3 separate regions of the Homo sapiens genome follow, and all the other regions are linked to region 2. The links are contacts of gene promoters, found by promoter capture Hi-C in blood cells and fetal thymus (Javierre and others, 2016). All regions are on one chromosome and are shown on one strand. Each heading gives the region's core, a stretch centred on a gene start or on the middle of the fragment in contact. The rest is flanking DNA. Distances are from core to core; before and after follow the strand shown. Region 1 holds the start of OR10S1 (olfactory receptor family 10 subfamily S member 1). Region 2 holds the start of OR4D5 (olfactory receptor family 4 subfamily D member 5). Region 3 holds the start of OR8D4 (olfactory receptor family 8 subfamily D member 4).

The links. The method cuts DNA at HindIII sites, captures the fragments that hold promoters and counts their contacts. A CHiCAGO score of 5 or more calls a contact.
Region 1: a contact is called between the fragment with the promoter of OR10S1 here and the fragment with the promoter of OR4D5 in region 2, in 1 of 17 cell types (neutrophils). The highest score is 5.6, in neutrophils.
Region 3: a contact is called between the fragment with the promoter of OR8D4 here and the fragment with the promoter of OR4D5 in region 2, in 1 of 17 cell types (neutrophils). The highest score is 7.5, in neutrophils.

What each region holds. Positions count from the first base shown.
Region 1 is chr11:123,975,369-123,979,559 of GRCh38, forward strand. OR10S1 (olfactory receptor family 10 subfamily S member 1) reads right to left here and starts at 2,413. Exons shown (of 1, transcript NM_001004474.2): 1 at 1,293-2,413. The coding sequence starts at 2,296. The coding sequence ends at 1,328. The HindIII fragment of the contact is 7,911 bases long and covers 1-4,191 here.
Region 2 is chr11:123,936,884-123,940,939 of GRCh38, forward strand. OR4D5 (olfactory receptor family 4 subfamily D member 5) reads left to right here and starts at 2,734. Exons shown (of 1, transcript NM_001001965.1): 1 at 2,734-3,690. The coding sequence starts at 2,734. The coding sequence ends at 3,690. The HindIII fragment of the contact is 4,702 bases long and covers 2,220-4,056 here.
Region 3 is chr11:123,899,230-123,903,911 of GRCh38, forward strand. It overlaps OR8D4 (olfactory receptor family 8 subfamily D member 4), which reads left to right and starts at 2,938. Exons shown (of 2, transcript NM_001005197.2): 1 at 2,938-3,028. The HindIII fragment of the contact is 7,569 bases long and covers 1,609-4,682 here.

The sequences.
Region 1 (4,191 bases), core at 1,163-3,662, 38 kb after region 2:
AAGCAACTAGTACAGTGCCTTGTACATACATATGTCAAAAATGATTATAATTATGATTCCCATTCTAATAGTCTTATAATTTTTTCTCTTCAAAACACTTCTGATCTAATTCTATAAAGTGTCTCTTCATCTAGGTTTAGCAATACTTTTATTATCTTATGTCTCTGATGTTATAATAGTTTATTAACTGGCCATTCTACCATTTCTCCTTTTTTTGTCTCTCTTTTCTAATTTATCTCATGGTTTAGCATTTAAAGAAGTGGCTTCTCAGGATAAAGGTATTTCTATAGATGACAAGGAGGAGGAAAAGTAAACAGGTAGGATGCCTAGGGCATAATCTGAATTCTTTAGGTTGGCATTCAAGGACATTTTCATCTTATAGAATAGGTTAGGTGAATACAACACAACTCCTTCCTCTTGTATGGTAAGCTGGTTTAACTAAAACCTTGAGTTATCTTTTATAATTTTGAAGTCTAGAAATGCCCTTTCTTTTGTAGTTGCCCTATAAACTCAATGAAGATATTAAAACCTTGCTAATCTTTCAGAAACAATTTGAACCTTAGCTTGTATCATAAGCTCTCTTTGATTTCTTCAACCAGCTTGGTAAGAAACATGAGCGCCTATTTTACATGACACTTAATATAACTATTTTATTTAGACCTCATAATATCCTACAAAGCAATTATTTTAAATCTTACTCTTAAAAGTGGAGACTAAAACTGCAATTATGACATCTGTACAAAATTCTACAACTAGACCTGGTTGGATCAGTATTAGAATACTGGTAGGTTCAATTGACACCAAAACCCATGTTATTTCTATCTCTCAATGTGGCCTAAAGTATATACTACCATGAGTGGGAGAATAAAGAAAATGTGACTTTCTAAGTCACCTTGGACAATCACTTTTCTCCTTGTATTTTATCATTTTAAAAAATGTGGTTTCTAAGCTGGGAAATATGTATACAAAGGTTTTTTCATTGCCTTTTATATTTTTGTTTACAGTATTCTGTATGTATTTAATAAAGTTATTTCATAAAAAGTAAAACAATCATTTACTAATACAAATGAGGATACGAATAGCATTTCACATACCTCTGAACCATAGAACATAGATTTTGGAGAGACTCTAGACATCATCTAATCCAGCCTCCTCATTTTCTAGATGAAGTGTTTGCAAGGGAGAGAGTGAGGTAGACCATTTGGCCAAAGCTGGGGGAAAGTGTGTGACTGAGTTGCAACTCAGTTATTCTGATTTCCACCTGAATGATTTGAGATGTGAATAGTTGCTTTCCTGGCAGGCAAATTGTGAGTTTTGATAGCACAGACTATGGGGGTGGGCTGCCTGCTGTAGACTCTCGGAAGCTGCTGCACAAAAGCCTTTGCAGAGCATGCTTCACCTCCTTGTTCCGCAAAGTGTAAATGAATGGGTTGAGCATTGGAGTTACGATTGTGTAGAAGACAGCAGGGGCCCCAGCTCCTGCCTCACTGGAGCGAGGCTGCAGGTAGATACAGACAGGTGGCACGTAGTACAGGAGCACCCCAGTGAGCTGGGCAGTGCAGGGGGAGAAGGCCCGCTGCCGGCCCTGGGCTGTGCGGATGCGCAACACAGCTGCCACGATGAAGATGTAGGAAATAACGATGAGGATGAGGCAGCCTGCAGCCACGATGCCAATGCTGGCAAGCATGACTAGCTCATTAATGGTGGTGTCTGTACAGGCGAGCTTTAGGACAGGGGGTATGTCGCAGAAGAAGTAGGCAATGTGGCAAGGCCCACAGTAGAGCAGGCGGAAGGTGAGGGAGGTGTGGATTGCAGCGTGCGTGGCACCTATGGCCCAGGTGATTCCAGCCATTTCTGCACACATCCTTCTGTTCATGGCCACTGGGTAGTGCAGGGGTTGACAGATAGCCAGATAGCGGTCATAGGCCATGACTGTGTACAGGAAGCACTCAGTGCTGGCCAGAAAGTGGAAGCAATAAAGCTGTACGGCACAGCCCTCAAAGGAGATCACCTTCCCATCCAGAGTCAGCAGGCCTGCCATGACCTTGGGCACTGTCACTGTAGACAAACAGGCATCCAGGAAGGAGAGGTGCCCCAGGAAGTGGTACATGGGTAAGCTGAGGTGAGAGTCAGAGCCCACAGTTAGGAGGATGAGGAGATTCCCAGCCACAGTGATGCTGTAGATGAGGAGGAAGAGGAGGAAGAAGAGGCTAGAATGTTTAGCGGTGTACCTCAAACCCTCCAGGAAGAAGTGGCTCACCACAGTCTGGTTGGGGTTCTCCGTTGTCATGGTCATCTTCTCACACACAGAGCGGCTAGTCATCCCCTTTGCAACAAAACTGACATTAATGGAATAAATAGCTGTATCCCTTTCCTGAGATGTCATTATCCATCAAGCCACACCACCTTGGTCTTACCCAGTAAGCAAGAGAAAGATGTACAAGTTCATCTTACAGTTTTGTTCTGCTCTAGTCTAGTGCTTCCTTGCTGTTTATTTCTTCATAATGAATCTTTCAATACAAAATCTGCAGTTTTGGTGAGGTATATAAAGGACTGTAAGAATTATTTGCAGAAATGCACTCCCTAAATAATGACAATAAAAATATGGATTATAAATCCTACTCTCAATGAGTATTTTTTGCAAATATTCCAGAATTGTGATGCCTCTGCCCTCCTACTCTATGTACCCTGCCATGCTGTAGATGTAGAAAGGCAGGTTCTTATTGCTGTGTCATCAGGGAGATGCATCCTATTTTCAGGTGAGACTTGCCTGGAGTTTTGGTGCTATTACATCAGCCAGAAACACAGCAGCCCCACCCATTACTCAACCAGAGGAGTTCTTTGGAATTTCAGTTACCCACAATCCTCAAGTGTGTAACAATTGAGGCTTGGAGAATAGACTGAATAATTATCAGGACAATTTTTTCTATACACTTTGTGTTCTTCCTGTAAAGCTCTGTTTCAAAATTTGGGGAATTGTTTGCCTTTTCCTTTCTTGTTGAGCCTTTCCACTGGACTGTAATTGAGATTTAAAGAGTTCTCTTTGATTCTTCCATCTTTCACCTCGTTAGCCTAACAGATGTTGCATTAGGTGAAAAATTTCCTTAAACTGCTTTTTTTCCGTGTTGTCTCTTCAATTCCTGTGGATTTTACCTAAACCCACCTCTTCATATTTTACACCTAGATTTTCACAATGGTATTTTATGTCCCATCTCTTCCTTACTCCCTGATATACCAAATGATTCAGTATTCAACTTTTTTGTGCCAGTTTTCTTAAAAAAATTCGAATATATCTTTTCTTACTGTTCCTTAGTGCCTGAGATATAAAGTGTATCTCTGTCCTACATTCAGAATTATCTGTAAACTATTTCCATTATCATGAAAAAAATCTTTATCTTCTGCAATCCCCTAAGAAACTCCTGTTATCCAGGGATGCTATTTGCCTCATCTCCTCAATTTGCCATAATCTCTCTCTGATCTTGTCACAGGATCCTTAGGATGTCACTTTTCCAGACAGAAACCTCTGTGGCTGGTGGTTCCTCTGCTTGAGTTTGCTCATGGCTGCTGGGTTCTTTTCACCCACTTGGCCTGGCAGGCTGCACTTGGCTCGTGCTACCAGCCTGGATTCCATGCTTGCCAAGGGTGGGAGAGGCGAGAGGTGTGTGAGTGAGCAAGCACAGGGGTCTGGCCACTGCACACAGCCAGGCACACTTGCTGCTGTGGTGGGATGGGCAGCTCCAGGTGCCAGCAGAGGCACCAGCTTCATGTGAGGCTATAGCTGGACCAGGCATACTGCAAGTGGTTTCCATTATGGGCACCAGCATCTGGACGAGGGGAATATGGGGGCACCCAAAAGCTCAGAGATGCCAGGAACTGCAGAGCCCAAAGAGGGTATTACAGCCTGTCACAGCCCTGGCTCAGGGAGTCCTGAGGTCTGGGCTCCAAGAAGCTCTTCTTTCCTTCTCGTCACCCACAATGCAGCCAATGAGGGGGTGAGTTTGGGGGTTTGTGTTTCAGTCTGTTTGTGTTACAGCCCTTTCAGTCCCACCACCCCACTCTGACCTGCAGCTCCTGGGCTGGCCTGGCCCACCTCTGCTTCCTGTCCCATTGGGTGGCCACCCAGCACTGGCAGAGGGTGGGAGGGCTATAGTGTTACAGCAGCTCTGGCTTGGGGAGTCCCGAGGTCTGGGC
Region 2 (4,056 bases), core at 1,484-3,983:
TAAGTCTTGAAGTCTAGTAGTGTTGGTTGGTCCTCCAACTTTATTCTTCTCCTTCAATATTGTGTTGGCTATTCTACATGATTTGCCTCTTCATATAAACTTTAGAATCAGTTTGTTGCTATTCACAAAATAAAATTCTGGGATTTTTATTGATATTGCATTGAATCTATAGATCAAATTGGGAAGAACTGACATCTTGGTAATATTGAAACATCTTATGCATAAATGTGAACTATCTCTCCTATTATTTAGTTTTTGAATTTCTTTTATCAGAGTATTGTAGCCTTCCTCATATACACTTTGTAAGTATTTTGTCATATTTCTCTCCAGATTTTCAGGTGTTCATTTGCCCTGTGACCTCATGTCTCTGCTTGGTCCAAGAAAAGCCATTGACTTTCGGTTTACTCAGCTTTTTCTTGTTTTAAGGATAGGACTATTGACTTTCAAAGTCTTACATGTTGGAACCGAATCTGAAAATTCCCAATTATTTGTGTATTTTAAATACACAAATTTGGTTTTAATGTTATTAAAACTAAAGCAAAATAAATACATAGAGATGAATAAGGGAAATCAAGGAAGCATGGGTTGAGCATAACTTCTGGCAACTTCAAGTAGTTTGATGTGCTCTAGATCACAGTTTATGTGTGAAAGAGGCTACACATGTGTATTAGTCCATTCTCACACTGTTCTAAAGATACTACCTGAGACTGGGTAATTTATTTAAAAAAAAGGAGTTTTAATTGACTCACAGTTCCACAAGGCTGGAGAGGTCTCAGGAAACTTACAATCATGGTGGAAGGCAAAGGGGAAGCAAGGCATATCTTACATGGTAGCAGGTAAGAGAGAACAGGGGGACTGCCACTTTTAAACCATCAGATCTTGTGAGAACTCCTTCACTATCATGAGAACAGCATGGGGGAAACCACCCCCATGATCCAATCACCTCCCACCAGGTCCCTCATTTTACATGTGGAGATTACAATACGAGAAGAGATTTGGGTGGGGACACAGAGCCAAACCATATCAATATGTTTTGATGAAACCTAATAGATGGGCAGGTGTTGGAACACTCCTATGCAGAGTGTTACACACTTAGAGATGTATTAAATCATTGTAGCTTACTCTTTAACCCCTTAGTATTTAGCACAGTGCCTAGTAAGTAGAAGGTGCTGAATAAATGCTTACTGAATGAATGGACAAAGGAAAGAAAATATAATTGAAATCCATACTTAATATTAAGTTAAATTGAAATGACACTTCACGGTTCTATTCAGCAACATGAAGGCTTTTATTCTAGAGTTTGTTTAGTCATCTTTCTGAGTATGTTTTAAAGTACTTAAGTGTATGAAAACACCCCTTTTATTTTGAAGGTTTCCAAGGTAGCTCTGCGTTTTTAGATGGTGGTTTTAAAATTTTAATTAATATTTATAGCTTCCTCTTGCTGCTTCCCCTATGAATAAAAATTATTCTTTGGGTAATGTCTCTGAAATTAATATTGACATTCAAACGATTCGGAAGTGATTTAATATTCTTGTTGCCTTCTCCTATGTTTCCTCCGGGACTATAGTTTCTCTGGGTTTCCCAGAGCCACCAGACAGGAAGCTTTTTCTATCACGTTTTCTTATCTAATTTTAGAGAGACTAGTAGTTCTTCACTACCCTTTTAAAGTGCAGGGGGCAGTGATTTCTTTTCTTTTCTTTTTCTTTTCTTTTCTTTTTTTTTTTTTTTTTTTGACAGAGTCTCACTCCATCTCCCAGGCTGGAGTGCAGTGGCGTGATCTCAGCTCACGGCGGTATCCACCCCCAAGGTTCACGCCATTCTCCTGCCTCGGCCTGCTGCTCATCCCATTTTTCAATTTCTGAGTTTTTGAGTAGCTGGGATTACCGGTGCCCGCCATCATGCCAGGTAATTTTTGTAGTTTTATTAGAGACAGGGTTTCTCCATGTTGGCCAGGCTGGTCTCGGACTCCTGACTTCAGGTGATGCGTCCACCTCGGCCTCCCAAACTGCTGGGATTATAGGCGTGAGCCACCGCGCCCGGCCCCGGTGATTTCTATTCTGCTCCCTTACCCATGGCTTCAGTATCCTGCTAGGCCTGAAAATGTATATCCAAGATAGAGCTATATCAGAAGGCAACTGAATATTTATTCAGGGCTGTAATGGACAACTTGCACTTCCTGTTGTTTTGGGACAAATATTAGAACTCTGTCAATCCATGGAAGCTTCGTCTAAATGTCTGGCATGCAGGGATGCATCAGGTTTTCTAAATTAAGGCCATATATGGTATCAAATATTAAAGTAAAGGAGACTTTGAGGACATTTTGGTTAATTTTATAGCATAGACAAGGGAAGCGAGGCTTAAAGAACTGCAGATAATTGTTTCTGTTTACACAACTAGTTACTGGAAGAATCAAAATTCATTTTCCATTTAACACTCTCTTCTCTACATGCCATTTTCAATTTTTGAGGGCTTATTACTTCTGATTCTCATAAACCAGAAATAGTATGAGTGCTATCCTGAGTTTTATGCCTTTGGAGTTTGATATCACCAATATATGATGTTCAAATGCTTGGTGTCCTGCAGAACCACTTACAACATTCTCCTTATGGAAAATGAAAGAGTGAAGAATTTCCCAGAGGAAGCAGAGGGAATTATTTTAGAGAACTTTGCAGATCCCCTGAATAATATGTCCTTTTTTCTTAGCAGGTTCATTGACAAGGTCATACCAACCAGATGAATCCAGCAAATCATTCCCAGGTGGCAGGATTTGTTCTACTGGGGCTCTCTCAGGTTTGGGAGCTTCGGTTTGTTTTCTTCACTGTTTTCTCTGCTGTGTATTTTATGACTGTAGTGGGAAACCTTCTTATTGTGGTCATAGTGACCTCCGACCCACACCTGCACACAACCATGTATTTTCTCTTGGGCAATCTTTCTTTCCTGGACTTTTGCTACTCTTCCATCACAGCACCTAGGATGCTGGTTGACTTGCTCTCAGGCAACCCTACCATTTCCTTTGGTGGATGCCTGACTCAACTCTTCTTCTTCCACTTCATTGGAGGCATCAAGATCTTCCTGCTGACTGTCATGGCGTATGACCGCTACATTGCCATTTCCCAGCCCCTGCACTACACGCTCATTATGAATCAGACTGTCTGTGCACTCCTTATGGCAGCCTCCTGGGTGGGGGGCTTCATCCACTCCATAGTACAGATTGCATTGACTATCCAGCTGCCATTCTGTGGGCCTGACAAGCTGGACAACTTTTATTGTGATGTGCCTCAGCTGATCAAATTGGCCTGCACAGATACCTTTGTCTTAGAGCTTTTAATGGTGTCTAACAATGGCCTGGTGACCCTGATGTGTTTTCTGGTGCTTCTGGGATCGTACACAGCACTGCTAGTCATGCTCCGAAGCCACTCACGGGAGGGCCGCAGCAAGGCCCTGTCTACCTGTGCCTCTCACATTGCTGTGGTGACCTTAATCTTTGTGCCTTGCATCTACGTCTATACAAGGCCTTTTCGGACATTCCCCATGGACAAGGCCGTCTCTGTGCTATACACAATTGTCACCCCCATGCTGAATCCTGCCATCTATACCCTGAGAAACAAGGAAGTGATCATGGCCATGAAGAAGCTGTGGAGGAGGAAAAAGGACCCTATTGGTCCCCTGGAGCACAGACCCTTACATTAGCAGAGGCAGTGACCTGAGAATCTGAAAGATGCTACAGGGTATTAGCCTGCTGGATAGGACCCTCGAGGTAGATAAAATCTATGCCTACTTCTTCTCCATTGTTCTTAACCTCAATCAGGTTCTGGTGACCTGAACTATTAGCCACAATAGAAGATGGGATGAGTGTCTTAGAACTGCTTCTAAATGCCTCCCAGATAAAAAGTATCAAGTTCTATGTAGAAGTACTGTTTGGCTCAGGGGCCACTTTCCCACGTAAGAATGATGTTGGCCTTGCTGAGAAAGTTTCAACTAGTAAATCTGGTGTCTCTTTCCTGATATCACTTTTTGGACACAAAGTACATTGGAAGAGCTTAAAATATTTTTAAA
Region 3 (4,682 bases), core at 1,688-4,187, 37 kb before region 2:
TTTTCTCTTGGGGCAGCAAGGCATGAACTCTTGCATGAGGGACTCCTAGATTTGCTTCTTGGGTCTGCCGTTTATCAGCTGGGCTGCCTTGAGCAAATATAATGGTCACTCTGGGCTCTGGTAGTCTCACCAGTGCAATGGAGCTAAATGTTTAACTCATTGAGTGGTTACTGCCACTAATGGGATCAGGTTTACAAAATGCCTGGATCAGTATGCAACAAATATCAGTTTCTTTTGCCATTTCTTCCCATGTGTGTGTGTGTATATGTGTGTACGTGTATATGTGTGTGTACATGTGTGTGTGTTTGCATAAGTGGGTCTGTAGGCAGGTGAGCAGGTCAGACATATGTAGACATATCAGGTGATATAGTGAAGGCCATCTTTAAGATTCCGTTTTCATCAAAACCAGGATTTCTTGAAAAATTCAAAAGGAGAGAAAGCAGGAACTTGATTTGCTGAGTTTGACCTAGTAAAAGAAGCCATATTCACCCTTAGGAAGGTGAGAACAGTATGGAGGCTTTCACTGAGAGCTGACTGGGCCATGTTTCTTTGCATTTTCATGGTACTTGAGGGAAGTAGAAACAAATTTAATTTTAGTATACAACTCTGGAAAATATTGCTGCACCATTAGCATTTCTTGGATAAAAGCTCTAGCAACGTACAGGGCAGAATACTAAATGTAAGCAAGGTGTCTTTGCTCCACCTACTCTTGGCTCCGTTTGGACTAAGACAGCAGTGCCTGGAGGAGCAGCAGCAAAGGCCAAGGTTGCCTGGTGGAGGCAGCTGCACACTGCTGGGTAGGGTAGAGAAGAGTTTCTTCCCAGTGGGCAGGAGGTTGTTTTCTAGGACTTATCATGGTGATAGTGAGAGTGGTAGGAGGCGGCTAATGGTCCTGTGGTTCTTCCCAAACCTAGACACTCCTACTGAGTACTCAGAAGGCCCTAGCTGAAGGGTTACAAACTAAAAATAAACAAAAGCCCAGATAGCAATAACAACAAGAAGAACAACAAAACAACCTCTTTAGATTCCCAGCTTTATACTAGCCCACCTGACTTTATACTTTTCTCATTTCTGACCAAAAACTTCCTGTACACATTGAAAGGAATCTCTAACATAACTATAAAGAGATTGCTATAGCTAAGTTAACTTTGACTTACCCACATTAACAAAGAAGACTAACATATAATCTGAACATTTCTCTTTGCCTTTGGATTATATTTCTTCATTTGCTTTTTTTTTGTTTTTTTGCAATCAGATATGCTCCATATTATATTTGTGTAGCAAATCACTAATATTTTTTAGTTTCAAAATAAACTATTTGCATAGTGAGGCAGCAATACATACACACACACACTCTCGCTTACACACATGATCATAACAGGGATTTACTTCACTAAACATTATTCATAATATGTATAATTCACAGGCTGGTAATGGGTATCTAGACTATAGCTGAAGTTTTGTGTTTTAAGCATTTGACTCCAGTAGGCCTCTATGCAATAAGCTTGCTTGGACAAGTATAAGTAGGATTGATGGTTATTTATAATATTTGATTTTAAGAATAAGCAAGAATATTGTGTGTTACATATCTGCTCTTCTAATACCATAAGCTTCCTCATTCATGACTGATTTCCCCTGGTTAAGAATTGATCTCATTTTGTTATTTATCTAGTAAGTGAAAATCCTCTCCTGTAAGTTGGCCTATTTTAATCAGCATTTCAGATCACGATCTTCTAGACAGGAGAGAACAAAGTGTTCTGATTGAACTAGATGCTGGGTAGGAATGAGGATGATGCTGAAAAAAGTAAATTCTACTCTAAGCCGGTCATTGCGATAGGCCCTAATGAATGAGAAATTGTCCCTTGTCTCAACGGCGGGGGGGCAATTCCCAAAGAGCAGGGAAGACAGGCACAAATACATGTATGGGGGGACAATGTTAAAGCAGAGGTCAGTACACTGGGAGAATAGTTAAGGGAATAGGAATGGTACCAAAGCACTTTTCCCAAGGAAATAAATTGACATTAAAACATGTTTTAATAACCATCCAATATGAATGGGGGAAGGACCATGCTTTATTTATCCTGGCTCCATCTCCAGAAATTTAGTGTCTTTGACATGGTAGACACTATTGATTATGAGATAATCTGAAGTGGTGTCACAGTTTTCCCCAAAGGCAGATCTGAATATAGCTGTTTGCCCCTGAAAATGTGGAGGCTTTAAGTGCATGTGTTATTTTAACAGAGCCACAAAAGGCTCACCCAAGGATCACCAGGCACATTCTTCCAGATGTCCTGGAAAGCCATTAGAACAGACTGGAGGGCTGGACTCAGACTCATTCCTCTGACTCTTCTTCCATCATTAGCAGACACTAGAAACACTGAATCTACTGCTTTCATCCAAGAAACACTTCAGCTATTCCCAGTGTTCTTCACATATTCCTTAGGTTTTCTACTTCTCAGTTCCTTTGCTTATGCCTTTATCTACGTCTTGAATATTCTTTCATATCCTCTCAGCTTAAATGGATCCTCCCCACCTTTGAAGGCATATTTTACAATCTACCTTTCCATGAAGATCGTCCTTATCGCTCTAGACAGTAATGACCTGTTCCATCTCTGACCTCAAAGTCTACCTACTGCTTATTATACCAAGCACTGTCTATGATGCCTCATTTGTTCAACATTTTAAAATGCAAGCCATGTGTTAGACCATGTATCTTCCCCGACTGAATGGCAAGGGGCATTAGTGTGACTAATCCATGTTAGATTCCCAAAATGATAGGCCAGTTCATGGATAGTTCTTACAAATACATAGGCTGCTGTACCTCAGGAGACAAGAAACCCTTGGGACTACTGGTCTTTATATTTCTTGACACAAAATACCTGAACTGAGAATAAAAGTCATAGCTTCTTGTTAGCTGTTGTCACTCAGACACTTAAAGAAGAAGGTAAAATCAATCCATCTCTACTCCTGAAGTGATGAGGTTAGGAGAAAGAAGAGATACTCACCTACAGTCTTCAGGAGGAAAAAGGTGAGCTTCAGAATTATGATGTTCATATTATAAGTATATTAAAATGTGTTCTGAAATCAATTCCCGATTGTCCCCATGGGTTCTCGAGCTGCATGTTTGAGGCCACTGAGTCACAGAAGTTTAGGGAAGAGGCCATAGGCATCCATCTCAGACTCATTTATGCATTGTCCAGTCACCTTACCTAAGTATCTTGTGTCTAATATATGAATTAATCTGTGAAATCACCTGCTTTAAAAATATATTTACAAATATATTTATGTGAACCTTATAATATGTAAAATACATTCACAGTTATTGTCTCATTTGATTTGCATAACAATCTTTTGAAGTATTTATTATTTTTTACAGATTAAAATATGAAGTTCAGAGAGACTTTATGAGTCAAAGGTTGCACTGTAAATCTTAGAAATGAAAATGATACTGCATCTTATAACTCAGGGTTCATGGTCTTTCTGTTACCTCTGTACTAATGGTTTCTTTCTTTAAAAGGGGACAATTCAGATTTGAAAGATTTAGGGAAAAAGATCACATTCTAGACTTCTGTTGTCCAGTAATATAGCCACTAGCCATAGGTGGCTACTGAGCATTTGAAATCTGGCCGGGTATAAAATACACTATGGATTTCAAAGATTTGTATAATAAAATAATGTAAAATATCTCATTATTTTTAAAATATGAATTATATGTTGAAATGATGTACATGTACATCATTTTGCATGTACAGTTGGCCTGTGTGTCTGTGGGTTCCACATCTGTGGATTCAACCAATGGCAGATGGAAGATTTTTTTTTAATGGGTGGTTATATCTGTACTGAATATGTACAGACATTTTTCTTGTTATTCCCTGAACAATATACTAAAAGAAATATTTACTTAGCATTTACATTATATTAGGTATTATAAGTAATCTAGAGATGATTTAAAGTATACAAAAGGATGTGCTTAGTTAGGTTACATAAAAATACGACACCATTTTAAATCAGGGACTTGAGCATTCAGGGATTTTGGTATCTGAAGGGGTCCAGGAACCAGTCTCCTATGGATATCAAGGACTGAACTGAGTTAAACAAAACATACTAGTAAAATGTATTTTATCTTTTTATTCTGACTTTTTACAAAATGAACTTCTAGGATGTTTTAAATTGCCCGTGTGTCTGCATTATATGTCTATTGGGCAATGCTGATCTAGCATTTACCTTTGCAAAATACTTTCAATAGTCATAGTTTTAATAATACTGTGAGATGCATTGAAATGTTTAAAAACACTTTTCTTATGATTTTAAATTGCTAAAAACCACCTGAGTCCTGAATGAGGTCTGAATCAATGTAGTAGATTATTTTGGTCAGAAATACAACCTCATAAATTTGTATCCCTAGGCTAGTCAAGTTTACTGTTTATCGGTTGGTTAAATAAAGTAGATGCTGGTTATCATTGCTTACTTTTGTGTGGACTAAGATGGAATGTGTATAATTTTTCTTCCTACAAATGCAAAAACAGAATACAATTTGTTGCAATAATCTATTTGACATGCACATTACACTGCCATGGAATCTGTGAGTTTTCAAATAGGTGGCAAAATACTGAAATGTAAAATTGTACACTTTCTATTCTTCATCTGAGAAGGCTTTCCTTGAGAAGATGTCTTCAAAGATG